Regions from separate parts of the Homo sapiens genome. Here regions 2, 3, 4, 5, 6 and 7 are each linked to region 1. The links are contacts of gene promoters, found by promoter capture Hi-C in human tissues and cell types (Jung and others, 2019). All regions are on one chromosome and are shown on one strand. Each heading gives the region's core, a stretch centred on a gene start or on the middle of the fragment in contact. The rest is flanking DNA. Distances are from core to core; before and after follow the strand shown. Region 1 holds the start of ODF2 (outer dense fiber of sperm tails 2). Region 2 holds the start of DOLK (dolichol kinase). Region 3 holds the start of PHYHD1 (phytanoyl-CoA dioxygenase domain containing 1). Region 4 overlaps KYAT1-SPOUT1 (KYAT1-SPOUT1 readthrough). Region 5 holds the start of NAIF1 (nuclear apoptosis inducing factor 1). Region 6 holds the start of TBC1D13 (TBC1 domain family member 13). Region 7 overlaps ZER1 (zyg-11 related cell cycle regulator).

Evidence for each region. The method cuts DNA at HindIII sites, captures the fragments that hold promoters and counts their contacts. A contact is called where the count stands out against the background at its distance.
Region 2: the fragment with the promoter of DOLK here is called in contact with the fragment with the promoter of ODF2 in region 1 in 3 of the 25 tissues and cell types used here (dorsolateral prefrontal cortex, hippocampus and small bowel).
Region 3: a contact is called between the fragment with the promoter of PHYHD1 here and the fragment with the promoter of ODF2 in region 1, in 4 of the 25 tissues and cell types used here (adrenal gland, dorsolateral prefrontal cortex, lymphoblastoid cells and 1 more).
Region 4: a contact is called between a fragment that was not itself captured here and the fragment with the promoter of ODF2 in region 1, in 1 of the 25 tissues and cell types used here (dorsolateral prefrontal cortex).
Region 5: a contact is called between the fragment with the promoter of NAIF1 here and the fragment with the promoter of ODF2 in region 1, in 1 of the 25 tissues and cell types used here (dorsolateral prefrontal cortex).
Region 6: the fragment with the promoter of TBC1D13 here is called in contact with the fragment with the promoter of ODF2 in region 1 in 5 of the 25 tissues and cell types used here (dorsolateral prefrontal cortex, lymphoblastoid cells, mesenchymal stem cells and 2 more).
Region 7: a fragment that was not itself captured here is called in contact with the fragment with the promoter of ODF2 in region 1 in 1 of the 25 tissues and cell types used here (dorsolateral prefrontal cortex).

The regions. Positions count from the first base shown.
Region 1 is chr9:128,453,818-128,457,787 of GRCh38, reverse strand. ODF2 (outer dense fiber of sperm tails 2) reads right to left here and starts at 1,782. Exons shown (of 21, transcript NM_001351578.2): 1 at 1,533-1,782. The coding sequence starts at 1,696. RefSeq lists enhancers at 501-1,236, 1,830-1,879, 1,237-1,972, 2,010-2,099, 1,973-2,709 and 1 more and silencers at 630-679, 890-1,039, 1,070-1,169, 1,300-1,609. The HindIII fragment of the contact is 20,941 bases long and covers 1-3,970 here.
Region 2 is chr9:128,945,931-128,949,900 of GRCh38, reverse strand. DOLK (dolichol kinase) reads left to right here and starts at 2,298. Exons shown (of 1, transcript NM_014908.4): 1 at 2,298-3,970. The coding sequence starts at 2,598. It overlaps NUP188 (nucleoporin 188), which reads right to left and starts at 2,202. Exons shown (of 44, transcript NM_015354.3): 1 at 2,150-2,202; 2 at 658-712. The coding sequence starts at 2,181. RefSeq lists enhancers at 2,083-2,132, 1,852-2,413, 2,483-2,552, 2,414-2,975, 2,976-3,538. The HindIII fragment of the contact is 11,289 bases long and covers 1-3,970 here.
Region 3 is chr9:128,918,262-128,922,231 of GRCh38, reverse strand. It overlaps PHYHD1 (phytanoyl-CoA dioxygenase domain containing 1), which reads right to left and starts at 1,250. Exons shown (of 13, transcript NM_001100876.2): 1 at 564-1,250; 2 at 185-302. The HindIII fragment of the contact is 13,888 bases long and covers 1-3,970 here.
Region 4 is chr9:128,867,898-128,871,867 of GRCh38, reverse strand. All of the region lies in intron 1 of KYAT1-SPOUT1 (KYAT1-SPOUT1 readthrough), which reads left to right. The region is part of intron 1 of KYAT1 (kynurenine aminotransferase 1); the gene reads left to right. Among named protein-coding and RNA genes, the nearest start is that of KYAT1, 12 kb to the left of the region's middle. The HindIII fragment of the contact is 5,668 bases long and covers 1-3,970 here.
Region 5 is chr9:128,065,284-128,069,253 of GRCh38, reverse strand. NAIF1 (nuclear apoptosis inducing factor 1) reads left to right here and starts at 1,934. Exons shown (of 2, transcript NM_197956.4): 1 at 1,934-2,663. The coding sequence starts at 2,153. It overlaps SLC25A25 (solute carrier family 25 member 25), which reads right to left and starts at 1,022. Exons shown (of 11, transcript NM_001330988.2): 1 at 674-1,022. The coding sequence starts at 934. RefSeq lists a silencer at 726-1,295 and an enhancer at 1,746-2,075. The HindIII fragment of the contact is 18,346 bases long and covers 1-3,970 here.
Region 6 is chr9:128,785,607-128,789,576 of GRCh38, reverse strand. TBC1D13 (TBC1 domain family member 13) reads right to left here and starts at 2,324. Exons shown (of 12, transcript NM_018201.5): 1 at 2,201-2,324; 2 at 1,170-1,243. The coding sequence starts at 2,223. RefSeq lists a silencer at 2,187-2,676. The HindIII fragment of the contact is 9,895 bases long and covers 1-3,970 here.
Region 7 is chr9:128,760,471-128,764,440 of GRCh38, reverse strand. The region is part of intron 1 of ZER1 (zyg-11 related cell cycle regulator); the gene reads left to right. Among named protein-coding and RNA genes, the nearest start is that of ZER1, 9.5 kb to the left of the region's middle. The HindIII fragment of the contact is 8,053 bases long and covers 1-3,970 here.

The DNA.
Region 1 (3,970 bases), core at 533-3,032:
CCATTATCTTGCTAACTGCCACATCCACCTCCTACGTGTTATTTATTTACACCTCGACTCCCTTCAAAAAGGCTCTGAACCTAGTACTCTATTATATAAAGACAACAAGAGTGACCCTGTTTGCTTCCAGGAAGCTGTGACATCTGGGGAGGGAAGGAGCGAGGGAGGTAGAGCTAGGATTGTGTATACATTTCGTTCCCCCTTCCCTTTAAAAACGATTTTTAAACGTTTTGGTCCAGACTTTCAGCAAACACAATGAGGAAGCTGGAAGCCTCAGGCGAGCCTGCCCTGGGGACCCCTGGCCACCTTTCCCTGCCCTCCGGCGCAGGCGCCTCCCACATCGGCAATACCTGGGGGAGCCGCCTGAGGATGAGGCAGACATGGCTAGGCATCAAAGCCGCAAAGGTGGGCAATTGGGTCAGCAGGCTCTGCTCAGGGGGACCCAGAGGGGCAGGCTTGTCAATGAGCCTCTCAAGGGGCCCGGCATCAAACGTCCTCTCTGAGGGGAGAAGGGTGGAAGCTTTGGGGTTGGCAGTTGGATGAAAACTTGGGAGGCGCTCCTCTACTGTCCAAGTCGCACAGCAACTGTCCTGCCAAAGTAGGGGGAAATAGTAGAGGCTGAGCGACCTGGGGGCAGAGGGGAGGAAGGGGAGGGGACGGGGCAGAACCGCGAGGGAAAGGACCACCGCGCCCGGGTCCCACGCGGAGGACTGCCGGTGGCTACCGGGGGAAACCTGAGGCGCCGGCGGACGTGCGGAGAGGGCGGGTGAGAACCGCTCGGCCCCAAGTGGGCCCCAGAGGGCCAGAACCGCGCAGGGAGCCGCGGGGATGCTGGGGCGGGGCCGGACAACTGTCTCCTAGGAGAAGGGGCGTTACGGAAGAACAGATGCCCGAGAGGACCAATAGTGTTTAAAGGAGGGAGGCGCGGAGGTTGCACGGGCCCCGGGCGCCCCGCCGCGAGGGAAAACCGAACAGAGTTCTGAGCAGGATAGACGCCGGGCTGGGAGGGGGCGGGCGGGACCCCCCCCCGCCGGGCGAGGGCCCTGGCAAGCCGGAGACGGTGCCCGGGGGACAGCGCTGCCTACGGAGGGCGTACAAGTGACTGCCATGTGGAGGCCCGAGGAGAGGACGAGGCGGTCGGGGCGATGCCGCCGACGGGCAGCAGAGCGAGGGAGAGCCTCTGTCGGCGGAGAGAAGGGACGGCCACCCACCAGCAGGCAGGAGGGTACCGGTTTCTGCCCATAGAGAGAAAGGTGAAGCCCTGCCCGCGGGCGGCAGAGGAGGGGCAGAGCCCCGTGGTAGCCAAGAGAGGAAGGAGGCGGCCGACCGCCCGTTAGCGGGAGGAGGAGAGGCCCCGCGCCGGTGGGCGGGGCGGGGGCCCAGGTTCTGACAGGAGGGGGACGAGCGCAACGCGGCGGGGAACCCAGGACCCGACGGCCCCGCGGGGTCGACCGCGCCGGGGGTGCGAAGGCGACGGTCTCGCCCGCGGTGCCCCGGAGGGCGCTGGATCCCGCCTGCCGGCGGCCTCTCACCAGGAGCGACACGGCTGCGCCCAGAAACGCCGCCTTATGAAGTCGTTGAAGTCGGAGGCCAGGGTCGTGCCATGGAGACGCCGCGGCGGATGCAGTCTGGCTCTGGCAGCGGCTCCTCCCCGCTTCCGCCTCCTTTTCCGACACCCGGTCGGCAGCTCGCCCATTGGCCAGTTCAAACCCCCCCGGGAGCCGCTTGGGTTTCGCCATCGAGGCCCAGCCCCTAGCGTCACAGAGATGCCCCGCCCCGCCAGAAGGGCCGCCCACTTCCGGGCCACGCGTCCCGTCACCAAGGAGACGTGCTACGCGTCCAGCGGGCCTGGCCGGGTCTCGCCCCCCATTCAAGGCCTTTCCCGCTCGGCCCTGTTTCCCCTGCCTTGGATCCTCCCGGATTCCCCTCACTCAAAGGAGCGTACGGTTCCGACGCCCTCCCCTCGGTACCCACCAGGAAACTAGGCTCACAGAGGACCCATGGAACTAGTTATTGGGAGCTGCACACTGCCTCCGAAAATCCAGCCCTGCCCCTAGTCCACTATTAATGCGGAGATGGAGTCGGCTTCTGCGCATTCCCCGGCCTCTCCCCTGCCCACATCGCCTCTGTCTTGGCCCCAACAGGAGAAAGGGTCGGCATTCCCCTTGCTGTTCTGTTCACTACCTTCCTGCACTTTTTTTTTTTTTTTTTTTTTTTTTTTTTTTTTTTTTTTTGAGACAGATTCTTGCTCTGTTGCCCAGGCTGGAGTGCAGTGGCGCGATCTCGGCTCACCGCAACCTCCGCCTCCCGGGTTCACGCCATTCTCCTGCCTGAGCCTCCCGAGTAACTGGGACTACTGGCGCCCGCCACAACGCCCGGCTAATTTTTTTTTGTATTTTTAGTAGAGACGGGGTTTCACCGTGTTGGGCAGGATAGTCTCCATCTCCTGACCTCATGATCCACCCGCCTCGGCCTTCCAAAGTGCTTGTATTACAGGCTTGAGCCTCCGCGCCCGGTCTACTACCCTCCTGCACTCTCTATGCCGCTCTGTGTACAGACCTATTCTGATGAGGTCCTTGCTGGTCCGCCATCTTCTCAATTATGCTTCACTGTCAGCCAGTCAGGGGAGGTCTGTCACGTGGCTCATAATGCCGCCCTGGAATCTGGGAGACCTGAACCACCTCCGGGCCAACTGGGCCACAGTCCCTTGACCTTTCTCCAGTGACCCCGCAGCACCTTAGCCACACAGCTCCAGGGTCACACAAGTGTTTCACCTGCAATCCTAAAGTCAGACTCGCAAACAAAACCTGCTTTTCCGCCTCGCTTTCACAGTATACTGCATACTGAATTTGTTCTGTAATGTCAGGGAGCTCCCCAATCCCTTGATCCATTCATTGTCTCTCTGTTGAATAATTGATAGATTTCCTAATCCTCATTAACCATTTAAGACTGCGGTGGCTCACGCCTGTAGTCCCAGCACTTTGGGAGGCTGAGGCAGGCGGATCACCTAAGGTCAGAAGTTCAAGACCAGACTGCCCAACATAGCGAAACCCCGTCTCTACTAAAAATACAAAAATTAACCGGGCATGGTGGTGTGTGCCTGTAATCCCAGCTACTAGGGAGGAGGAGGCAGGGAGAATTCCTTGAACCTGGAAGGCGGAGGTTGCAGTGAGCCAAAATCACCACTACACTTCAGCCTGGGTGACAGAGTGAGACTCTTGTCTCAAAAAAAAAAAAAAAAAAAAAAAAGTATATACAGGTTCAAGGAAAAGAGGACAGGAAAAGGAGGTCCCGGTCCTCCTGGGGCAGGCAGGAGATGGTTCCCAGAGGTGATGGTATTGGAACTGAGCCATGAAAGGTGAGTGGAAGTTCGCCAAACAAGCAGCAAAGGGAATTCTAAACAGACTGCAGTAGGTACACAGGTACCACATGCAGGTACAAGAGAATACTGCATATTCTATGAAGCATCATCACTGCAGTCCCTTGAAGTGTTACAGGGCCAGCGATGAGAGAAATCCTGCCAAAGTCAGCAGGACCAGACTATGCAGCGTCTGATAGGCCAGCCTAAGGTGTTGGACTTCATCCCTCAGAAGCCTGGAAAACCATGAGAGGGTTTTCAGTATTTCACTCTAGGCTGGGCGCTGTGGCTCACACCTGTAATCCCAGCACTTTGGGAGGCCGAGGCAGGTTGATCACTTGAGGTCAAGAATTTGAGACCAGCCTGGCCAACGTGGTGAAACCCCGTCTCTACTAAAAGTACAAAAATTAGCTGGGCGTGGCAGCCGGCGACTATAGTCCCAGCTACTCAGGAGGCTGAGGCAGGAGAATCACTTAAACCCAGGAGGTAGAGGTTACAGTGAGCCAAGATTGCACCACTGCACTCCAGCCTGGGCGACAGAGCGCGACGCCATCTCAAAAAAAAAAAAAAAAAATAGTGGCCAAGCGCAAAGTGGCTCAAGCCTGTAATACC
Region 2 (3,970 bases), core at 1,049-3,548, 490 kb before region 1:
TCCCAGGACTTTGAGATGCCAAGGCAAGTAGATCACCTGAGGTCAGGAGTTCAACACCAGCCTGGCCAACATGGTGAAACCCTGTCTCCACTAAAAATACAAAAATTAGCCAGGTGTGGTGGCATGCACCTGTAATCTCAGCTACTCGGGAGGCTGTGGCAGGAAAATCGCTTGAACTCGGGAGGCGGAGGTTGCAGTGAGCTGGGATCATGCTGTTACACTCCAGCCTGGGTAACAAGAGTGAAACTCCATCTCAAAATAAATAAATAGGCCAGGTGTGGTGGCTCACGCCTATAATCACAGCAATTTGGGAGGCCAAGGAGGGCAGATCACCTAAGGTCGGGAGTTGGAGACCAGCCTGACCAAAATGGAAAAACCCCATCTCTACTAAAAATACAAAATTAGTCGGGCGTGGTGGTGCATGCCTGTAATCCCAGCTACTCGAGAAGCTGAGGCAGGAGAATCGCTTGAACCTGGGAGGCGGAGGTTGCGGTGAGCCGAGATCACGCCATTGCACTCCAGCCTGGGAAACAAGAGCGAAACTCTGTCTCTAAATAAATAAATGTGTTTACTTCCTACATTTAAAAAAAGGTTTTTTTTGGTAACAAAAGCTACACAAAGAACCCAGAGAACCCACTCAAGAACACCACCACTTACCAGCTCTCTCAGAGCTGACCTTCCAAGCAGAATAGTCCACAGTTCTCTACTGCTCCTGCAAAATGAGAGAACAGAGGTAATTTTGCTCTTTCTGATCATACAAACTTGTACACTGCCTCATAGCCATTTTGTCTGCTCTCTAAAAGCAAAAAATCTCAATATACAAAACGATTTGTTAAATTTTTGGAAAGTAATCTTGTTATATAATAATATTGTTAGGGCCGGGCACGGTGGCTCATGCCTGTAATCCCAGCACTTTGGGAGGTCGAGGCGGGCGGATCATGAGGTCAGAAGATCGAGACCATCCTGGCTAACACAGTGAAACCCTGTCTCTACTGAAAATACAAAAAATTAGCCAGGCGTTGTGGCGGGTGCCTGTATCCCCAGCTACTTGGGAGGCTGAGGCAGGAGAATGGCATGAACCCGGGAGACAGAGCTTGCAGTGAGCCGAGATCGTGCCATTGCACTCCAGCCTGGGCGACAGAGCGAGACTCCGTCTCAAAAAAAAAAAAAAAAAAAAAAAAAAAAAAAAGTGGGGAAAACACTGCTGGCACAGGGAAGGATAAGAGACGGGGATGTTTAACTTTGAGGGAGGGTGGTGGGAAGAACGAAGACCTTCGAGCTGCAATGTGGAAGACAGAAGGAGGCGTGGTGGTCTGGTTATAGCACTGGAGGTACGCAGACTTCAGCTTGAAGGCTCTCTTTATCACTTGGCTAGCTCTGAGCCGGACTTCTGAGTCATCTGTGAAATAGAAGGCGCCTCTCGGAGTTGCGAGAATTGAATGAGATAACTCCTGGGAAGCGCTCCACCAGGGTCTGACGCTAGAAAGCACTTTGTCAGAATTGTAGTTTTCGTATATAATATTTCATCTTCTTGTCCCTAAAGCCTAGTTCAATCCCTGAAATCTCTTGGAGGATTTGGACATGCTGGCTGACTTGATTCAGTGCAAGAAAAGAACGATACGAGGCGCGGAGAGGACAGAAGCCGCAAGCGTGGCTCCGCTCAACGCGAAACAAAATCCTAACAAGAACAGATCGCGGGAGAGGTCGGGGAGCCAGCAGGGCGCACTCGACGCCGGGGCAGGACACTGGGAGCCTGCAGCAGGGACGTGGGTGGGGGGTACCCCAGGAGACCGCAAAGCTCCCCGTGGCTCGAGGGAGCGTCACGGCCGGAGAAGGAAGCGCGGGTGGGGCGCCAAGAGACGCGTCGGAGGTGAGAGAGGAGGAAGGCAAAGGGCCCTGGGTGAGGAGATGGGAGGCCGAGCGCGGAGGGAAGGGGTGAAGAGCCGGCCCCCCTCCTGAAGAAGACTCTTCAGATCCCCGCGCGCGGGGACCGTTTGGACGTAACCGCCTCCCGTCTCGGTGCCCGTCCATCCAGCCGGGGTTGGCCCTGCCACTGTCGCCACATCCCGCCTCCAATTCCCGCCCCGCTTCCGCTCGGCTTTGACACCGCGCTTCACAGCCACCCCGGTCCATTCGACCCGCTCCGCACCTCACACACGGCCCGCCGGCGGCCGCCGCCATCTTCGCGCGCCCGCTCGCCCTAACCCCGCCCCCAGACGCCATGCCCACGTGACCGCTCGCCCCCGGACCCGGAGCGTGGGCGGGGATTTCGTCACGTGACGTTGCCGCGGGGCGGTGCCAAGATGGCGAGGCCCAAAGAGGTGAGGAGCCGGCAGCGGGGGCGGCTGTAACTGTGAGGAAGGCTGCAGAGTGGCGACGTCTACGCCGTAGGTTGGAGGCTGTGGGGGGTGGCCGGGCGCCAGCTCCCAGGCCGCAGAAGTGACCTGCGGTGGAGTTCCCTCCTCGCTGCTGGAGAACGGAGGGAGAAGGTTGCTGGCCGGGTGAAAGTGCCTCCCTCTGCTTGACGGGGCTGAGGGGCCCGAAGTCTAGGGCGTCCGTAGTCGCCCCGGCCTCCGTGAAGCCCCAGGTCTAGAGATATGACCCGAGAGTGCCCATCTCCGGCCCCGGGGCCTGGGGCTCCGCTGAGTGGATCGGTGCTGGCAGAGGCGGCAGTAGTGTTTGCAGTGGTGCTGAGCATCCACGCAACCGTATGGGACCGATACTCGTGGTGCGCCGTGGCCCTCGCAGTGCAGGCCTTCTACGTCCAATACAAGTGGGACCGGCTGCTACAGCAGGGAAGCGCCGTCTTCCAGTTCCGAATGTCCGCAAACAGTGGCCTATTGCCCGCCTCCATGGTCATGCCTTTGCTTGGACTAGTCATGAAGGAGCGGTGCCAGACTGCTGGGAACCCGTTCTTTGAGCGTTTTGGCATTGTGGTGGCAGCCACTGGCATGGCAGTGGCCCTCTTCTCATCAGTGTTGGCGCTCGGCATCACTCGCCCAGTGCCAACCAACACTTGTGTCATCTTGGGCTTGGCTGGAGGTGTTATCATTTATATCATGAAGCACTCGTTGAGCGTGGGGGAGGTGATCGAAGTCCTGGAAGTCCTTCTGATCTTCGTTTATCTCAACATGATCCTGCTGTACCTGCTGCCCCGCTGCTTCACCCCTGGTGAGGCACTGCTGGTATTGGGTGGCATTAGCTTTGTCCTCAACCAGCTCATCAAGCGCTCTCTGACACTGGTGGAAAGTCAGGGGGACCCAGTGGACTTCTTCCTGCTGGTGGTGGTAGTAGGGATGGTACTCATGGGCATTTTCTTCAGCACTCTGTTTGTCTTCATGGACTCAGGCACCTGGGCCTCCTCCATCTTCTTCCACCTCATGACCTGTGTGCTGAGCCTTGGTGTGGTCCTACCCTGGCTGCACCGGCTCATCCGCAGGAATCCCCTGCTCTGGCTTCTTCAGTTTCTCTTCCAGACAGACACCCGCATCTACCTCCTAGCCTATTGGTCTCTGCTGGCCACCTTGGCCTGCCTGGTGGTGCTGTACCAGAATGCCAAGCGGTCATCTTCCGAGTCCAAGAAGCACCAGGCCCCCACCATCGCCCGAAAGTATTTCCACCTCATTGTGGTAGCCACCTACATCCCAGGTATCATCTTTGACCGGCCACTGCTCTATGTAGCCGCCACTGTATGCCTGGCGGTCTTCATCTTCCTGGAGTATGTGCGCTACTTCCGCATCAAGCCTTTGGGTCACACTCTACGGAGCTTCCTGTCCCTTTTTCTGGATGAACGAGACAGTGGACCACTCATTCTGACACACATCTACCTGCTCCTGGGCATGTCTCTTCCCATCTGGCTGATCCCCAGACCCTGCACACAGAAGGGTAGCCTGGGAGGAGCCAGGGCCCTCGTCCCCTATGCCGGTGTCCTGGCTGTGGGTGTGGGTGATACTGTGGCCTCCATCTTCGG
Region 3 (3,970 bases), core at 1-2,500, 460 kb before region 1:
CCCGGAGAAAACCCGGTCCCACCACCCAACCCTCCTTCCCTAGACACAGCCAGATCAGCCTGTGACCTCCAGGCTAATCTCCCCCACCCCCACAACTAATCCAGGATTTGCCCTTTCCCATCTCCAAGGATTTTATCTGCTTCCTCTGTGTTTCTTCTGGAAACCACCCCCCACCACTGCTTACCAGGTGCCGGGAAATTATGCTGTGAGAGGGTCAGGCCAAGCAGCTGGGCTGAGTCCCAGTCCAGGCGCCGCCATTCCCTGTGACTCTGAGGAACGCCTGCCTCTCTCTAGGCCTCAATCTGGATAGAATGGGATGCAGGGTTGGTCTGGGGGATGTGCGGCACCCCCCTTCTCCAGGTAATGGGCATTCCAAAGGTGGAAGAGGTCCTGGGGAGAACTATCTGGGCCCCTCCCAGCACCGATCTGAAACCCTCTCGGTCCTGGGAGGATTATGGAAGGGAATTAACGCATCCATCTGCAGCTCAGACGAAAGTAGGAGACATGGGGTATCTTAGTAGGAGGAAGGGGCTGAGGAGAGAGAGATGCTTCCTGTTACCCACCCTCAGGCCCAAGATACTTGGCATCTCAAGTCGGGCTGGCACAGTGGAGCTGGGGTCAGAACAACACCTGCAGGCCGGGTGCGGCGGCTCGGGCCTGTAATCCCAGCACTTTGGAGGCAGAGGCGCGCGGATCACGAGGTCAGGAAATCGAGACCATCCTGGCTAACACGGTGAAACCCCGTCTCTACTAAAAATACAAAAAATTAGCCGGGCGTGGTGGCGGGCACCTGTAGTCCCAGCTGCTCGCGAGGCTGAGGCAGGAGAATGGCGTGAACGCGGGAGGCGGAGCTTGCAGTGAGCCGAGATTGGGCCACTGCACTAGAGCCTGGGCGACAGAGCGAGACTCGGTCTCAAAATAAATAAATAAATAATAAATAAAAATACCAAAAACTAGCCGAGCATGGTGGCAGGTGCCTGTAGTCCCAGTTACTCGGGAGGCTGAGGCAGGAGAATCGCTTGAACCCAGGAGGCGGAGGTTGCAGTGAGCCGAGATCATGCCACGGCACTCACTCCAGCCTGGACGACAGAGTAAGACTCCATCTCAAAAAACAAAAACAAAAACAAAAAGAGAGAATAACACTTGCACACCACCACCCTTCTCAGCTTGCCCTGCTCAGCAGCTGGCAGGGCCACTCGCTGGCTCTGAAAAACCGGCTGCTGCCTTCCCCAAAATGATGCCTTCTGAATGGCGAAGGGACAAAGTGTTTCAGGAGTGTGCATGGGGACACTGCTCAGCCCTCAAGAGCCTTGGCCTCGAGTCAAGTCGTGTTTGCTGGGCCACCGCTCTGGGAGCTGCTGCTTGGTCCAGGCCGTCCGGGGGGCAGGGGGGAGCAGTAAGTGCAGCTCAGGCTCCTGGTTCAGAGGGGTTAGGCTGGGTGAGGGGCAGGCAGATGACAGAACCACGAGGTTCACTAGAGGCAGGATGTGTTCCCAGCTGTCCTTAACCCTTCTGATGCAACTGCCCAACAAAGACAGATGCCTACCATGTGCCAAGAACACTGAGGTCCCCTCGGACTGGGCCAGCCATTCCCCTGGGAGCCCCCACAGAAGGCTTGTAGTAGAGACTCAGTGAAGCAGACTGTGTTTGCGTCCCAGATGTTCAGGCCTTACTTTCCCAGTCTGTAATTTGGGGCTAGCAGTAGGATCCCCTGTGAGCAGTAAATAAGATGAATGCTTCGCAGCTGATAAAGAGCTTGGCACCAGGCCTGGCGCTGAGTAAGTGCCTACCAACTGGTGAACAAGTTGTTCACCAAATGTTAGCAGGGGCTGTTCTGAGTGGAATATTATTTATTTATTTATTTTTTATTTTATTTATTTTTTTTGAGATGGAGTCTCGCTCTGTCACCCAGGCTGGAGTGCAGTGGCGCAATCTCAGCTCACTGCAAGCTCCGCCTCCCGGGTTCACGCCATTCTCCTGCCTCAGCCTCCCCAGTAGCTGGGCCTACAGGCGCCTGCCACCACGCCTGGCTAATTTTTTATATTTTTTAGTAGAGATGGGGTTTCACCGCGTTAGCCAGGATGGTCTCAATCTCCTGACCTTGTGATCTGCCTGCCTCGGCCTCCCAAAGTGCTGGGATTACAGGCGTGAGCCACCGCGCCCAGCTGGGTGGAATATAATTTAAACAATTTTTTTGAGCTTCCAAAATTGCTGTTACAATCAGAGAGAAGACCACCACAGTGGTTTTAGGCAGAGTGGAGAGCCCTGGGTGGGTGGGGGAGGGGGAGGGGAGAGGCCCAGCCTCCCACTAACTGTTCATTCTGCTCAACTTTGGGAAGTGGGTGGGCGGTGTTTCTACATGGTGGTTTTTTCCAAATGTAAACCAGCTCCAGATCGAACTCTCCTGCTCCAGGCGCTGGACAGCCTCAAGGCCAGGGTGGGGGCGGGAGTGGGGTCGGGGGGTGGTGGGAAGGGTACCAAACTGGGGGAGGGACCTCCACCACGGAAACAGAAAAGAAGGCCCCAGCCCGGCAGTCACAGTCCAGCTGCTCAGCCTGTCAGCCCATGGCAGGGGGAGAAGAGGGAGGGAATCTTGGCTCAGGCCTGAGTTCACCTGGAGGGGTCAGAGTCCCCGTGGAGGGAGGAGGGATAGACTCTGTCCAGTTGTAGAGGAGGTGCCCAAGCAGCCACCCAGGCCTCATCACTAAGGTCAAAGTCAGATATGATGGCCTTTCTTCCTCACCCAGTCTCCTGCCGCAGGGCGCCCACGTTGGCCCACCACAAGGATCCTTGGTCTGGGTGGAAGATACAAGGCCATTTATTGGGTACTAGCAGCCAGGTCCTCCACCAAAAACCCCATCTACCTACATAATCGCCATTGTTCCTTGAACAGTCCTGCAAGTGTGCCATTACCTTCCTGATTTTACAAATGAGAACACTGAAGCCCCACATCAAACACGGCAGAACTGGCATCTGGAAGCAGCTGTCTCAGCCTCTGCCCTTTACCACACTACCTCCCAAAGGCCCCCAAAGGGGCTGGGAGCTGAGGCAGGCTTCCCCACGATGACTCTCAGCCCCACCTCTGTAGACCACTTGGGACTCACTGTTGGAATTGCAAGGGACCTTTGAGAGCACAGAGTGGAAATTCCCATTGTCCACATGGGGATACAGAGGCCACTGGAGAAGGGATCTGCCTAGCTTCATGCACATCCTGTCCCATGAAGCTGGGACAAAGGCCCAGGACTACTGGTTCCCATTCCAGTGCCCTCCTCTCCCATCCCCACCCATCAAAACTCATGAGGGGCCAAGCACGGTGGCTCACGCCTATAATCCCAGCACTTTAGGAGGCTGAGGTGGGTGGATCTCTTGAGCTCAGGGATTCGAGACCAACCTGGGCAACATGGCAAAACCCCGTCCCTACAAAAAATACAAAAATTAGCCAGCACGGCTGGGCGCAGTAGCTCATGTCTGTAATCCCAGCATTTTGGGAGGCTGAGGTAGGTGGATCAGAAGGTCAGGAGATCAAGACCAGCCTGGCCAACATGGTGAAACCCTGTCTCTACTAAAAATACAAAAATTAGCTGGGCATGGTGGCAGGCACCTGTAGTCCCAGCTACTCGTGAGGCTGAGGCAAGAGAATCACTTGAACCTGGGAGGCGGAGGTTGCAGTGAGCCGAGATCGAGCCACTGCATTCCAGCCTGGGTGACAGAGTAAGACTCTGTCTCAAAAAAAAAAAAAAAAAAAAAAAATTAGCCAGCATGCCCCTGTGGTCCTAGCTACTTGGGAGGCCGAGGTGAGATCACCTGAGCCTGGAGAGGTCAAGGCTGCAGTGAGCCGTGATCACGCCACTATATTCCAGCAGTGCACTCTAGGTGACAGAATGAGACCCTGTCAAAAAAACAACAACAACAAAAAAACCCCCTCATGAGTGCCCAACCACAGGTGAGTAGGATGACAGAGATTGTGCTG
Region 4 (3,970 bases), core at 754-3,253, 410 kb before region 1:
GCATGAGCCACCACGCCCAGCCAACATGGTCATTTTTATAATGCCACACTACTGTGGAAAGTAAAGACTACCTGAATATGTATGTGTATGTGTATATGTATATATATGTATGCATCCTCACATATGTATCTCCACAATTGATTTTGTTTATTTTTTGAGACAGGATCTCACTCTGTCACCCAGGCTGGAATGCAGTGCTGTGATTATGGCTCACTGCTGCCTCGACTGCCTGGGCTCAAGCAATACTCCCAGCTGAGCCTCCTGAGTAGCTGGGACCACAGGCATGCACCACCACACCCAGCTAATTTTTAAAAAATTATTTGTAGAGACAAGGTCTTGTTATGTTGCCCAGGCTGGTCTGGAAATCCTGAGCTCCAGTCCTCCTGCCTCGGCCTCTCAAAGTGCTGATATTACAGGTGTGAGCCACCTTTCCAGGTGTGAGCCACCACATCCAGCTTTCTCTACAATTAAAAAAAATGCAAATAGAGTTATATTGTTCTTCAACCTGCCCTTTTTGTTTGTTTTTGTTTGTTTTGTTTTGTTTTGTTTTAAGACAAGGTCTCACTCTGTCTCCCAAGCTGGAGTACAGTGGCACAATCTTGGCTCACTGCAGCCTCAACCTTCTGGGCTCAAGCAATCCTCCCACTTCAGCTTCCCGAGTAGCTGGGACTACAGACACGTACCACCGTGGCCAGCTAATTTTTTGCATTTTTTGTAGAGATGGGATTTCACCATGTTGCCCAGGCTGATCTCGAACTCCTGAGCTCAAGCAATCTACCCGCCTTTGCCTCCTGAAGTGCTGAGATTACAGGTGTGAGTCACCGCGGCCAGCCTGTCTCTACAATTTAAAAAATGTAAATGGGTTATATTGTTCTTCAACCCTTTTAAAAAATTACCATACTTTTTTTTTTTTTTTTGTAATTGAGGTGAAATTCACCTAACATACAAGTAACTATTTTAAGGTATACAATTCAGTGGCATTTAGTGCATTCACAATGTTGTACAAACATTATGTCACTGTAGTTTCAAAACTTTATCGTTCCCTTAGGAAAACACTCCGTACCCATCAAATAGTCACTCCCCATTACCTCCTCCCTGTCCTCTGGTTACCACTCATCTGCTTTCTGTCTCTATAGACTTGTTATTCTGAATATTTCACAGAAAAGGAATCATAGCTATGTGACCTTTTTTGTCCGGCTTCTTTCACTTAGTGTGTTTTGTTTGTTTGTTTGTGACAGGGTCTTGCTCTGTTGTCCAGACTGGAGTGCAGTGTCATGACCTCAGCTCACTGCAATCTCCACTTCCCAGGCTCAAGCGATCCTCCCACCTCAGCCATCTTATTATCTGGGACTACAGGCACACACCACCATGCCTGGCTGATTTTTGTATTTTTTGTAGAAACAAGGTTTTGCCGTGTTTCCCAGGCTGGTGTCAAACAATGATCCTCCCACGTCAGCCTTCCAAAGTGCAGAGATTATAGTCATCAGCCATGTCGCCCTGGCCTCACTTAATATATTTTTGAGGTTCATCTAAGTTACAGCATGTGTCAGCACATATTTCATTCCATTTTGTGGCTGAATAATATTCCATGGTACAGATATGTTACAATTTATCCATTCATCCATTGATGGACAATTTGGGTTTTTTTCACCTGTTGGCTATGATGAATACTGTTGATATAAACATTTGTGTACATGTTTCTGTGTGGACATATGTTTTCAGTTCTTTTGGGTATATACCTAGGAGTGAAATTGCTAGGTTGTAAGGTACTTCTATATTTGGACTTCATAAAAATTAAAAAGTTTTGTGTACCAAAGAACATTATCTGCCGGGCCCGGGTAATTGCAGCACTTTGGGAGGCTGAGGCGGGGGGATCACCTGAGGTCAGGATTTCAAGACCAGCCTGGCCAACATGGCGAAACCCTGTCTCCACTAAAAATACAAAAATTAGCTGGGCGTAGTGGCGAACACCTGTAGTCCCAGCTACTCGGGAGGCTGAGGCAGGAGAATCGCTTGAACCCAGGAGGCAGAGGTTGCAGTGAGCTAAGATCACGCCTCTGCACTCTAGCCTGGGCAACAGAGTGAGACTCTGTCTCAAAAAAAAAAAAAAAGTACATTATCAAGAATGTGATCAGGCTGGGCACAATGGCTCACACCTGTAATCCAAGCACTTTGGAAGGCCGAAACGGGAGGATTGCTAGAGGCCAGGAGTTAAAGCCCAGCCTGGGCAACGTGGTGAGACCCCATCTCTGCAATAAAAATTTTCGAAGTTGTTGGTTTATTTTGAGTTAATTTTTGTAGATGGAACGAGGTGAAACTCCTGCTTCATTCTTTTATATGTAAATATCCAGTTGTCCCAGCACCCTTTGTTGAAGAGACTATTCTTTCCTCTATTAAATGGGCTTGGTGCCGGGTACGGTGGCTCACGCCAGTAATCCCAGCACTTTGGGAGGCCGAGGCGGGCAGATCATGAGGTCAGGAGATCAAGACCACCCTGGCTAACACGGTGAAACCCCGTCTCTACTAAAAATACAAAAAATTAGCCGGGCGTGGTGGCTCGCGCCTGTAGTCCCAGCTATGCAGGAGGCTGAGGCAGGAGAATGGTGTGAACCCGGGAGGCAGAGCTTGCAGTGAGCCGAGATTGTGCCATTGCACTCCAGCCTAGGCAACAGAGCGAGACTCCATCTCAAAAAAAAACAGGCTTGGTGCCCTTGTCAAAAATCAATAAGGCCAGGCGCAGTGGCTCCCACCTGTAATCCCAGCACTTTGGGAGGCCAAGGCCTTTGTATTGCGTGAGTCCAGAAATTTGAGACCAGCCTGGGCAACATAGTGAGACCCCCGTCTCTACAAAAAATTAAAAAATTGGCCAGGCACAGTGGCTCACACCTGTAATCCTAACACTTTGGGAGGCCAAGGTGGGCAGATCATGAGGTCAGGAGATCGAGACCATCCTGGCCAACATGGTGAAACCCCGTCTCTACTAAAAATACAAAACTTAGCTGGGCATGGTGGTGTGCGCCTATAGTCCCAGCTACTCAGGAGGCTGAGGCAGGAGAATCGCTTGAATCCCAGAGGCAGAGGTTGTAGTGAGCCAAGATCGTGCCACAGCACTCTAGCCTGGCAACAGAGCAAGACTCCATCTCAAAAAAAAAAAAAAAAAAAAATTAGCCAGGCATGGTGGCATGTGCCTGTAGTCCCAGCTACTCAGGAAATTGAGGCAGGAAGATTGCTTGACTCTATGAGAACAAGGCTGTAGTGAGCCGTGATCGCACCACTGCACTCCATCCTGGGTGACAGAGCGAGACCCTGTCTCAAAAAAAAGGAAAAAAAGAAAAAAATGTCCAGCTACTTGGGAGACTGAGGTGAGAGAATCACCTGAGCTCAGGATGTCGAGGCTACAGTGAACCGTGATTGCACACACCACTGTTCTCCAGCCTGGGCTACAGAATGAGACCCTGTCTCACCAAAGAAAAAAAGGAAAAAAAAATCAGTGGGCCAGGCTGGGCATGATGGCTCACGCCTGTAATCACAGCACTTTGGGAGGCCGAGGTGGGTGGATCACCTATAGTTCCAGCTACTCAGGAGGCTGAGGCACAAGAATCGGCAGAGGCTGCAGTGAATCAAGATCGTGCCATTGCACTGCAGCCTGGGCAACAGAGTGAGACTCTGACTCAAAAAAAAAAAAATTAGTGGGCCATAGATGTTTGGGTTTATTACTGGGCTCTCAATTTTATTCCATGGGTCTATGTCTGTCTTTATGGTAATACCACACTATTCTAATTATAAGCTTTGCAGGGCCAAGCGCAGTGGCTCACGCCTGTAATCCCAGTACTTTGGGAGGCCAAGGCGGGTGGCTCACGAGGTCAGGAGATCGAGACCATCCTGGCTAACATGGTGAAACCCCGTCTCTACTAAAAATACAAAAAAATTAGCTGGGCGTGGTGGTGGGCACCTGTAGTCCCAGCTACTC
Region 5 (3,970 bases), core at 685-3,184, 390 kb after region 1:
CTCGGCCAAGAGCCCACAATAGTAACAATCTCGCTTTGACTTTTAGAAAAAAAATTTCCCCCGGATTCTTTCACTCCGTCCACACTCCAACCCCGCGGGGATCACGATCCCATTTTCTGGATAAACAGGGCAATGGAGATGAGCCTAAACCATGAGAACTGTCAGTCTTCGCCGCCAACGTCCACACGGATCAGCCTGAAACCCCAATACCAATTTTTTTTTCAACTCCCACATGTTCCTGAGAGGAACCAGATCAGGGCCCACGGCTGGCATGGAAACGAGAGGGAAAGGAGGGGGTGCTGCTGGGGACTGATGGATGAACCCATCCTTGGGTGAAGGGAGCGTCCAGCTTGGCCTTGAGGTCAGGAGGTGACAAAGGCACACTCCTGAGACCTGGCCTTCTACTCTGGGCAAGAAAGGGCTTTTCGCCCATCAGAAAGCCCATAGGATGCCCACCTGTGTCCACGAAGAACCCGGCTCAAGCACCCAAAGAAGTCAGGAAGGAGCCCCGCTCCCACCAGGGCATAAGTGGGGTGTCCCTCAGTGAGTCAGGGGGCACCCTTCCTCTGGACAGTGGGGGTTCCGCCCAGCCCAAGGGGCCGTCCCCCGAGACCTGTCACCCGGCCCTCGAGGGGCTCCCTCCCCGCCAGTGCTGAGGACGCGCGCAGCCTACCTGGAGCTCGCCCTCGGTGCGGTGCAGTCCCAGGCGCCGCAGCCCCACCGCCAGGTCGTTGACACACAGGCCGCCGTCCCGGTTGACGTCGAGCGTCTGAAAGAGTCTCCACAGGCGCAGCCGGTGGTCCGGGCCCCCGCAGATAGCGCCGCCGCAGGGGTCCCCCACGGACGCCGGCGATGAGGCAGACGAAGAGGCGGCGGTGGCGGCGGCGTCCGGCGGCGGGGAGGCCACACAGCGGCACAACACACTGCTCACCATCGGGCGCGAGGCAGGGGCTCCGGGCGCGGGCGGGAGCGGGGGCGGCGGGCCGGCGGTGACCGCGCGGGAGGCAAGCCAGGCGCTCTGCAGCTGGGAGCGCGGGCTCGGAGACGCCGGCAAGCTGGCGGAAGGGGCGGCTTCCGGGAGCCCCGCCCCTCCGCGCCCCGCTTCGCCGGCCACGCCCGGGCGCACCGAAGGCCAGTCACAGGCTCGGATGGGGAGGAGGGAGGGGCGGAGCCTGTCTAAGGACAGCCCACGCGCCACGGACTACCCGGATCAATGGGGTGGGCGGGGTCACCCGGCTCCGCCTGGGGCCGATTCAAACTGAGGGAGGCGGGGATTGGCTGAGCCGGGGGCCAAGAGAGAGAAAATCACGCAGCGATAGGCATGAGTAATGTGATTGGCAGGCGGAAGGCCCCGTGTCCAGTTTCCATTGATGAACTAACTCTGTTTAGACTGCGGGATCTTAAGGATGGGAGGAGCGGTAGTGTACGGAGAGATCGTAGCCTCCAGTGGGAAACAGGATTTGTGTGAGAGCATTTGTGAACTGCAGTTGCGAGGCAGAGTTTGTGCCGGTGGGAGGAATTAAAAGTTAATTGACCCATGGGTCACGGCCGAAAGCACTAAGTATCCTCAGGAAGCAGGGTTTTGGTAATCTAACTCCCTAAACCACCAATAAAATAGCTGAATTTAACGGCTTAATAGTCGTAATACTGACAATTGAACGACAGAATGATTTTCCAATGGAAGTGAATAAAGGTTAGGTGGGCGGGGCCCTCTGGGCGACGGACACAATTTTAGACCAATGATCAGGCGAATTACAGTAAGCAGGCGTGCTCTTTAGCTGAGCGACAGATCGAAAGAACCAGTGATCGACGTGATATTTGAGCAGCTACCAACCGGGAAGGCCGGTTTTCCCGGAGAAGCGCTGGGAGGCGGGAAGAGGGGAAGTGGGCGGATCTCCGCACACCTCGGCGGAAGAGGCAGATTCAGGAAGCCATTACGCTGCTGGCTGGCAGCGGCCGGGCCGGTCGGGGCTGGGCCCTACGCACTTTGCGTAGCGAGGGGGGTTACCAAAGGCCTAGTGCTTGGCCTCGAGCAAGCCTGGCCTATCCCCTGTAGGGGGTGGGTGAGGGGCGAGGCTGAGGAAGAAGAGAAGGGGAATTGGGGCGCTTGAGGGGATTATAATTTCTTTAAAAAGAGGGGAGGGGAGAGGCCATGGCCGTCCCAGCCAAGAAAAGGAAGATGAACTTCTCAGAGCGGGAGGTGGAGATCATCGTGGAGGAGCTGGAGCTGAAGAAGCACCTGCTGGTGAACCACTTCAACGCCGGGGTACCCCTGGCCGCCAAGAGTGCGGCCTGGCACGGCATCCTGAGAAGGGTCAACGCCGTGGCCACCTGCCGCAGAGAGCTGCCTGAGGTCAAGAAGAAGTGGTCTGACCTCAAGACCGAGGTCCGTCGCAAGGTTGCCCAGGTCCGGGCCGCCGTGGAGGGTGGTGAGGCGCCGGGGCCCACTGAGGAGGACGGAGCTGGGGGGCCTGGGACAGGCGGTGGCAGTGGTGGCGGTGGCCCAGCTGTAGCCCCAGTGCTGCTGACCCCCATGCAACAACGTATCTGCAACCTGCTGGGCGAGGCCACCATCATCAGCCTGCCCAGCACCACAGAGATCCACCCTGTGGCCCTCGGACCCTCGGCCACCGCAGCCGCAGCCACGGTCACCCTGACACAGAGTGAGTGACCTCTCCTGCCCAGGCGGCGTGCATAAGTGGGAAGGGCCAGCAAGCTCTGGGGTGGCCTGGGGAAGGTTGGCTGCCAAGGGTCAGAGGTCAGATGGGGGTCTTGGAAGACCATGAGGCCTTCCAAGAGCAGCACCCAGACAGAAGTGATCTTGCTCTCTTTGGGACTTCCTCAGCACGTGGGCTGGACTTCTGACGTGCTGGATAGCTCGCCACTGAGCATTGCCACCATGTTTGTCCATGACTTACCTCCACTTGCCGAACTGGGTGGTCCTTGAAAACAAGAGACCGTGTCTGTATCCCCACAGGACTTTTCACAGGGCCCGGCTTGTAGTAGACAGCCAGGCCATATTTGTTGAAAAAATTGATGGGAATAATACTGCCCAAGTGAGACAACGATTCTGGATTCTGTTTTCAGTGTGGGGGATCTTTCATCAGGTGCTGCTCAGGAGCCTCATGGTTCCTGGTGTTAATCTACTCCATTCATTCATTCATTCATTCATCAAACATTAGCACTTATTCTGTACCAAACCCTGTGCTGGGCACTGGGATTACCAAGTTGTCTAAAATACAGGCCAGTTATGTTCTAGTAGGACAGAGATGACACATATAGGAATAGCTTCGCCATCAGTTGGGAAAACCTCAGGCCCCGGAAGAGGAAGGGGGCTTCTTGGTGGCATAAGGACACATAGCTGACATTGGCGTTGAAGGGTGGAGGAGCTTGACCTCTCCCACATGCGCGGAGGCCCATACAGCCCAGCCAGGATCCTTTCCGTGGTTCTCAGGAATGACAACAGAACTAACTTTGGTTGGATTTTTTAGTTCAAAGAAGAGTTTGTGCCCTGTTACCTCTGCTCGTTTGTGATGACCGTGAGCTGGATCATTCAGTGATTCTCAGTGGGGGTTGGGGGAGTTGGGTGGATGTGCGAGTGCCATCCCCTCACAATGCGTATTTCTCAAGAATACACTGGGGTGGGGTAAGGGGGACAAACACGGGTCTAGGTCAGATGCTGTTCTGGAACAGGAAGGATGTTTAAGTATCGGATTGACCCAGATGATGACAGACAGGGAGACATTGACTGGGTACTTTAGCTACTGCTGCCCCATTCCCACCTCCTTTTCTGCTTCGCCATAGGGGCCTAGGAAGTCAAGTCAAGAAAGCATCAAAGGGCTGGCATGGTGGCTCACTCCTGTAATCCCAGCACTTTGGGAGGCTGAGGTGGGCAGATCAGTGGAGGTCAGGAGTTCGAGACAAGCCTGGCCAATATGGTGAAACCCTGTCTCTACTAAAAATACAAAAA
Region 6 (3,970 bases), core at 1,075-3,574, 330 kb before region 1:
AGATTAACGTAATTGTCGTAAGAAGGAAACTTATCTGTAAAACTCTTAACTACTAACACTGACTGCCTCTCCTTTGGGGCCTATATTTCACTCCTAAACAGAAAGACAAAGTTATCCTGCAATAAGATCAGGAAGCTCACTACCGCAGTTGCTGCTGTAGTATCCCTGGTACCATGAACATGAGTGAATACCTCCACTTCAGAATCTATATGAGGATGACAGGGACAATATAAGAAGTTCTTTTTTTTTTTTTTTTTTTTGAGATGGAGCTTCACTCTTGTCGCCCAGGCTGGAGTGCAATGGCGCAATCTCGGCTCACTGCAATTCCCAGGTTCAAGTGATTTTCCTGCCTCAGCCTCCCGAGTAGCTGGGATTACAGGCAAGTGCCACCAAGCCCAGCTACTTTTTTATATTTTTAGTAGAGACTAGGTTTCACCATGTTGGCCAGGCTGTTCTCGAACTCCTGACCTCAGGTGATCCACCTGCCTTGGCCTCCCAAAATGTTGGGATTACAGGCATGAGCCACGGCACCCGGCCAGAAGTTCTTGCTGGCAAAGTTACAAGGGCAAAAAAGTGACAAGAAGCTATGCAGAACACGTTGGGATATTTTTTAAAACAGGCAAAAAGAGAGTTATCTTTGTGCTCATTGGGGCAAAGTCTAACACAGCAGGATCAGCTCCTTAAAGTCAGTGTCCCAAGGCTACCCATTTTACCACTAGCCAAGGTTTAGTTCAGGCAGCTTAGACCCCAAGCCAGGGAGAGAACAAGGAACAACCCTGCAGTTAACCAAACTCACCAACACAGGAAGCTAGCTAAGGAATGAGGAAAGACTGTCCTGGGCTCAAAAGGTCCCAACTCTCATTCTCCAGGCTTCAGTCCTGTCCTGTTACTCTCAGGAATCTGGCACCTCCTGCGGAAAGCTTAGGAAAGCTTAGGGCATGCTAAGTGTGGCCACTGCCCCTCTGGGAAACCCCTCCAAGCTCAAGGCAGTCACTGCCTGTTCAGCTCTACAGAATCTGGAAAAGGCCCCAAGAGTCTGTGTGTAATTTCCTTCCAAGGCCCCAGCCCCCAGCAGCTGGGCCCCAGAGCTGACCAGGTGTGGCCTCCCCCTGTATTCTAGCCACAGGGCTGCTGTAGGGAAACCGTGAAAATACAGAATGGCTTCTTACCACTAAAGCTGAGTTCCCGCAGCTTTTCCAATGCAATTGAGGGCTCCTTCAGGACATCCTGGAAATCTGCAATTCTGGAAGGGGAGATAGGGCGGCAAATGAAGCATGCTGATATCGGCTCAGTGAGACCCACAGCCCTCAGCTCCCTCACACTGCCAGTTTCCAACCTGTGCCTCTCTCCCCTTTAGGACATAAAAATCACACAGCTTAGTCAAGGTCCTCACCAAAGACAGCTTTGGAGAACAACAAAACTATATTTCACTTCTTCCTCTACAACCAGAAACACAGAATGCCAGGGAAGAAACTTGAGAGATATTCTTGTCTAGAAGTTCCCAAATGAGGACCATAAAATTAGACATATTCCAACATTCTAATACTTAGTGAGCTGACATTTACTGGGCACTTCCTGCCGGCCAGGCCGGGTCCACGCACAGCCACCAACTGAACTCCTTGGACCTCAGGAACCAGGAGTAATTTGATATGCAGACAATGGACCATGCTCACAAATATAACCATTACAAGACCTCTGGGCCTGCCAGAAGGCAAGGACAAAGGGTTTAAAAAACACGTCCTGAAGGAAAACTGAAGAGTGAGCAAAATTCAGCCAATGCTGCAGGATCTGGCCTGGGGGAGGGGCCAGACTGGAGAATGCAAGTTCTCTAGCAATCCTAGTAAGAAAAAGGCACGGGGGACAGGGTGCACTTGGAGAGAGTACGGGAGCAGGGGGATCAAAAGGGGGAAAGGCACGGGGGCGGGGCATGGGGGTCTGGATGAGGAAGACTCAGGGGAAGGGGGACACCAGGGGTCCAGGATGAGGGAGGCAGAAGCAGTGACATCAGGGGCAGGAGAAGGGCCGCCCCTCCGTCGTTCCTGCAGCCCACAGGCAATGAGGTTAGAAGGTGGACGCTCGAGACCCTCTGCCGAGGGGGTCTGCCGATTCCTGGCCACACCCGCGCTTCCCCCTTCTGAGGGGCAGAAGGGGCAGCCTGGCCAGGAGTGGCCCAGCCGGGTCAGGCCCCATGGCCCCTTACCGGCTCTTGTGCAGACTTGACATGGTGTTGACTTCCGGACCCCCCAGCCGCCTCCGCCGCCTGCGCCTCTGCCGCCTGCGCTGCCGCCGCCGCCGCCGCCCCCCAGGGACGCGGGGCTCTGCGCAAAAGCCTCCGGCGGGAAACACAGCCACTAGCCTGCGCGTTCCACCGCCTCAGCCCCGCCCCGCCCCGCCAGTCACGTGCCACCCCTCGACTCTCACGCTTCCACACGGTACTGGCGGCTACGGCCGGCCGGGTTGAGCGGGGCAACCTCGGGTCTGGTGGGCGTGGCAATCGCGGGCCGGGAGCCCCAGCGCCGCCGACCCTGCGGGCCAAATTTGAGAACCCGCCGGTGACAGCGCAGACTGTGTGTCTCTGGACTATTCCTTGCGCTTCCCTGGGCCTCAGTGTCTACTTACGCAATATACCTGTCACCCTGTCGTCTTCCCTGCACTCACCCCCCTGTAATTAACTACTGCATGATTGTTACAGGAGTCTCGGCCTCCCCTGCTAAACTGTTCAGGCCCCCCAGCTTATCTTGGTCTCTGCAGAATCCTCAAGGCCTGTATAGCAGGGACTCGCATGAACCGCCGTGCGCGGCCCAACTTTTTTTTTTTTTATAAAAACTATACCAGCAAACCCTATAAAATGTAAGTTAGGAAGAAAGAAAAAAACACAAATGATATCTTAAGAAAAATAGGCTGGACCGGGCGCGGTGGCTCATCCCTGTAAATTCCAGTGCTTTGGGAGGACGAGGCAGGCAGACCACTTGAGGTCAGGAGTTGGAGACCACTCTGGCCAACACGGTGAAACCCCGTCTCTACCAAAAATGCAAAAATTAGCCGGGCGTGGTGGCAGGCGCCTGTAATCCCAGCTCCTCGAGATTACCTTCTTTACAAAAGATGTAAAAATTAGTTGAGTAGGCCGGGCGTGGTGGCTCACGCCTGTAATCCCAGCACTTTGGGAGGCTGAAGCGGGCAGATCACCAGGTCAGGAATTTGAGAACAGCCTAACCAACATGGTGAAACCTCGTCTCTACTAAAAATACAAAAATTAGCCGGGTGTGGTGACGCACAACTGTAATCCCAGCTACTCAGGAAGCTGAGGCAGGAGAATTGCTTGAACCCGGGAGGCGGAGCTTGCAGTGAGCCGAGATAGTGCCACCGCACTCCAATAGCGCCACCGCACTCCAACCTGGGCAAAAACGCAAGACCCTGTCAAAAAAAAAAAAAAAAGAAAAGAAAAGAAAAGAAACTGCTTAAAGATTTTCCGAAATGGTTGTATTATTTAACACCTTTTTCTTGAGAAAAAAAAAAAAAGAAAGAAACAGCTAGCCAGGCGCGGTGGCTCACGCCTGTAATCCCAGCACTTTGGGAGGCCAAGGAGGGCGGATCATGAGGTCAGGAGATCGAGACCATCCTGTCTAACACGGTGAAACCCCATCTCTACTAAAAAATACAAAGAAAAAAATTAGCCGGGCGTGGTGGTGGGTGCCTGTAGTCCCAGCTACTCGGGAGGCTGAGGCAGGAGAATGGCATGAACCTGGGAGGCAGAGCTTGCAGTGAGTGGAGATTGCACGACTGCACTCCAGCCTGGGCGAAAGAGCGACACTCTATCTCAAAAAAAAAAAAAGAAAAAGAAAAAGAAAAGAAAGTGCTTAAATATTTTCCAAAATGGTTGTATTATTTAACACCTACCCCAGCAGTATATGAGAGTTGCTGTTGTACCACGTCCTCACCAATACTTGATGTGGTCAGTCTTTTTAATCTT
Region 7 (3,970 bases), core at 586-3,085, 310 kb before region 1:
CCTAGGTAACTGGGCTCAGACCTGCAGAAAAGGCAAAACCCCAGTGGCTCTCCCTCATTCAGAGCCTCCGAGCCAAGAGGCATCATTTGCAGCCACTGGGCGCCCAGCAGTGTCCTGAGTGCAGCAAGCAGGGAGAATGCGAGAGTGTACTATACCTCCCAGGCCTCGTGCAGACCTCTGATGGCGAGTACTTTGTCATTCCTTCCACAGGCCTTTGTTGAAACCTCACCTTGTGGCAGGCCCCACATTGAGTGTTCAGTGCTTCCTTTGTTCATTTAGCAAATAGTCATGGACCTGGGCCCGTAGTGCCAACGTCCCATGCACCCCCTCTCCTTGCAGCTTAGGTACTTCTTTGCTTCCTCCCAAAGCGCCTTCCCCTTCTCTCCCCTCCACCAGAGTTAACTAGGACTTATCTTTTGGGTCCCAGCTGAAATGTCACTTCTTTTTTTTTTTTTGATGGAGTTTTGCTCTTATTGCCCAGGCTAGAGTGCAATGGTGTGATCTTGGCTCACTGCAACCTCCGCCTCCCGGGTTCAAGCAATTCTCCTGCCTCAGCCTCCCGAGTAGCTGGGATTACAGGCGTGCGCCACCAGCCCAGCTTATTTTTGTATTTTTAGTAGAGACGGAGTTTCACCATGTTGGCCAGGCTGGTCTCGAACTCCTGACCTCAGGTGATCCACCTACCTCAGTCTCCCAAAGTTTTGGGATTACAGGTGTGAGCCACTGCACCTGGCCTGAAATGTCACTTCTAAGGATACCTGCTCTGACTCCCCAGTCCAGGGCAAGTCCCCTGATTGGGCATCCAGAGCCCCAGGCCCCTTCTCCTGCAAGACACTGGTCCCAGTTACGCGACAGGCGCTTATGGGCCCTGTAGGTGGATCTGTCTCCCTCCGGAGCCAGTACGCTCCATGTGGTCAAGGACCTTGTCCGGCTCGCTCACCAAGGACCCCCAGTGCTCAGCAGGGACTGAGTGAGCAGGTCCAGGGAGGTGATACCAAACAAGACAGCCTGGTTTTGCCCTCATGGACCTGGCCATCCATCAAGGATGCTGAATCATCAAAGCCACATCGTACCAAGTGTTCATTGCTGTGGTAGATCGGGCCTGTGGGGGGACTCAGCAGGCACACCCTGGTGGGTTAAGCATGGCTTCCCAGAGGAAGTAACTTTGACACTGGGACCATAGGTATCAGCTACGTGAAAGGAGAGTTCAAAGATCATGTGGGCTGGAGTGGCCAGGAGATACTTCCTGGAGGAAGGACATGGAGTGTATTTGGGTAGGGGAGGGGAGAAGGCAGTATTTAAATTAGAAAGTGCAGTAATTAGTTGAATTTGGATGGTCCTGGTTGAAAGAGAACAGACTGGGCAAAGGTCTGAAGGTGACCTGTGCCGAGGGCCTTTTGCCAGGACAGTGAATGATGAGGCCAGGCTGGCTGGAGTAGGGGGGCAGTGGGGACCAAGTAGGCCAGAAAGCTGGCTGTAATTCCGGTGGGCTTGAAAAGAGTTGCTTTCCAAGAGTGGGGACTCTCTGCCAGCAGTGCTCCCTCTGGTTCCAGTTTCCCAGGCAAGAGAGGCTGCTGGGCTCTTAAAGATCTTGAAGCAAATGAAGGCAAAGGAAGGCCATGCCCGGGGCCCAGGCATCCTGGCTTTTGTGCCTTCCCTCGAGGGTGCCATGCTGCCAGTGGGACAGCTGACACAATGAGCCTTGTTGTGGGAGACCCAGGCCGGGGAGCACAGGCCCGGAGCTGGGAGCCAGGGCAGATGAGGTAGGAGAAGGTAATGATTATAACAACAACATAATAACGGTTGTCTTTATTGAGCAATGACTACATGCCAGACACCGTTCTAAGCCCTTTTGATATTATTCCATGGAATCTTCACACCGTGCTGGGGATGAGGTATTGTGCTGCTTCTATTTTAGAGGAAAAGTGACTGAGGCACAGAGAGGTGGAGACACTTGCCCAAGTTTGTCTCCTCGTGAGCAGCAAGGCTGAAATGTGAGCTATGCCTGCCTGAATCCACAGCCCATCCACACACAGTCCCCAGTAGACAGTGGTGCCACAGTTGAACTCAGAACTGGCTGATTCCAAAGCCCAGTGTGCCCTGTGGCTTCCCGCTGGATTTCCTGAGCAGTCTGGAAGGTTTACAAATGGGCACAGAGGGAGGCTCCCAGAAGCTGGGACAATGCTGGGCCCCAGAACTCCAGAACCCTCTAAGTCAGGGGTGTCCAATCTTTTAGCTTCCCTGGGCCACACTGGAAAAGGAACTGTCTTGGGCGACACGTAAAATACACCAACACTAACAACAGCAGATGAGCTAAAAAAAAAAAAAAGTCCATAAATGTCATAATGTTTTAAGAAAGTTTACAAATTTGTGTTGGGCTGCATTCAAAGCTGTCCTGGGCCACATGCAGCCCATGGACCACAGGTTGGACAAGCTTGCTCTAAGAGATGTGAGGGATTCCACGAGACCAGGTTCCAGTCTAGTTTACACAGCTCCCTCTGTTTGACCTTGAGTTTCCTCCTCTATAAGATGGGGTCAGCCGGGCGCGGTGGCTCACGCCTGTAATCCCAACATTTTGGGAGGCTGAGGCGGGCGGATCACAAGGTCAGGAGTTCGAGACCATCCTGGCTAACATGGTGAAACCCCATCTCTACTAAAAATACAAAAAATTAGCCGAGCGTGGTCGCAGGCGCCTGTAGTCCCAGCTACTTGGGAGGCTGAGGCAAGAGAATGGCATGAACCCAGGAGGCGGAGCTTGCAGTGAGCCGAGATCGTACCACTGTATTCCAGCCTGGGTGACAGAGTGAGACTCTGTCTCAAAAAAAAAAAAAAAAAAACAAATTATGGGGTCATAGGGCTGGACATGGTGGCTCATGACTGTAGTTCCACCATTTTGGGAGGCGAGGCGGGTGGATCACCTGAGCTCAGGAGTTCGAGACCAGCCTGGCTAACATAGCAAAACCCCGTCTCTACTAAAAATACAAAAATTAGCCGGGTGTAGGGGCAGGTGCCTGTAGTCCCAGGTACTCAGGAAGCTGAGGCAGGAGAATAACTTGAACCTGGAAAGCAGAGGTTGCAGTGAGCTGAGATGGTGCCGCTGCACTCCAGCCTGGGTGACAGAGCAAGACTCTGAAAAAAGAAAAAAAAGGTGGGGTCATAACCACCATGTTGTGTACTTAGTCTGTTGGGCTGGGACTAAGCATTTCTTCAACATTATCTCATTTAGTACCACAGCCCTGTGAAGTAGAGATTATTATCCCCCCCTCCCTTTTTTTTTTTTTTTGAGACAGAGTCTGGCTCTGTCGCCCAGGCTGGAGTGCAGTGGCGCGATCTCGGCTCACTGCAAGCTCCGCCTCCCGGGTTCACACCATTCTTCTACCTCAGCCTCCCGAGTAGCTGGGACTATAGGTGCCCACCACCACGCCCAGCTAATTTTTTGTATTTTTAGTAGAGACAGGTTTCACTGTGTTAGCCAGGATGGTCTTGATCTCCTGACCTCATGATTCGCCTGCCTCGGCCTCCCAAAGTGCTGGGATTACAGGCGTGAGCCACCGCGCCTGGCCTATTATCCCCATTTTTCAGATGAGGAAACTGAGGTCTGGAGAGGTTAAGTAACTTTTTTTTTTTTTAAACGGAGTCTCGCTGTGTCGCCAGGCTGGAGTGCAGTGTCACCAGGCTGGAGTGCAGTGGCGCAATCTTGGCTCGCTGCAACCTCCGCCTCCCAGGTTCAAGTGATTCTCCTCCCTCAGCCTCTTGAGTAGCTGGGATTACAGGTGTGCACCACAACACCCAGCTTTTTTTTTTGTATTTTGGTAGAGACGGGGTTTCACTATGTTGGCCTCAATGGAGAGGTTAAGTAATTTTACAGTGAATTGTATAACTGGGTCAAAACATAGATCTGTCTGACCACAGAGCCTGCACTTAAAAGAAAACTTTTGGGGCTGGGTGCGGTGGCTCACGCCTGTAATCC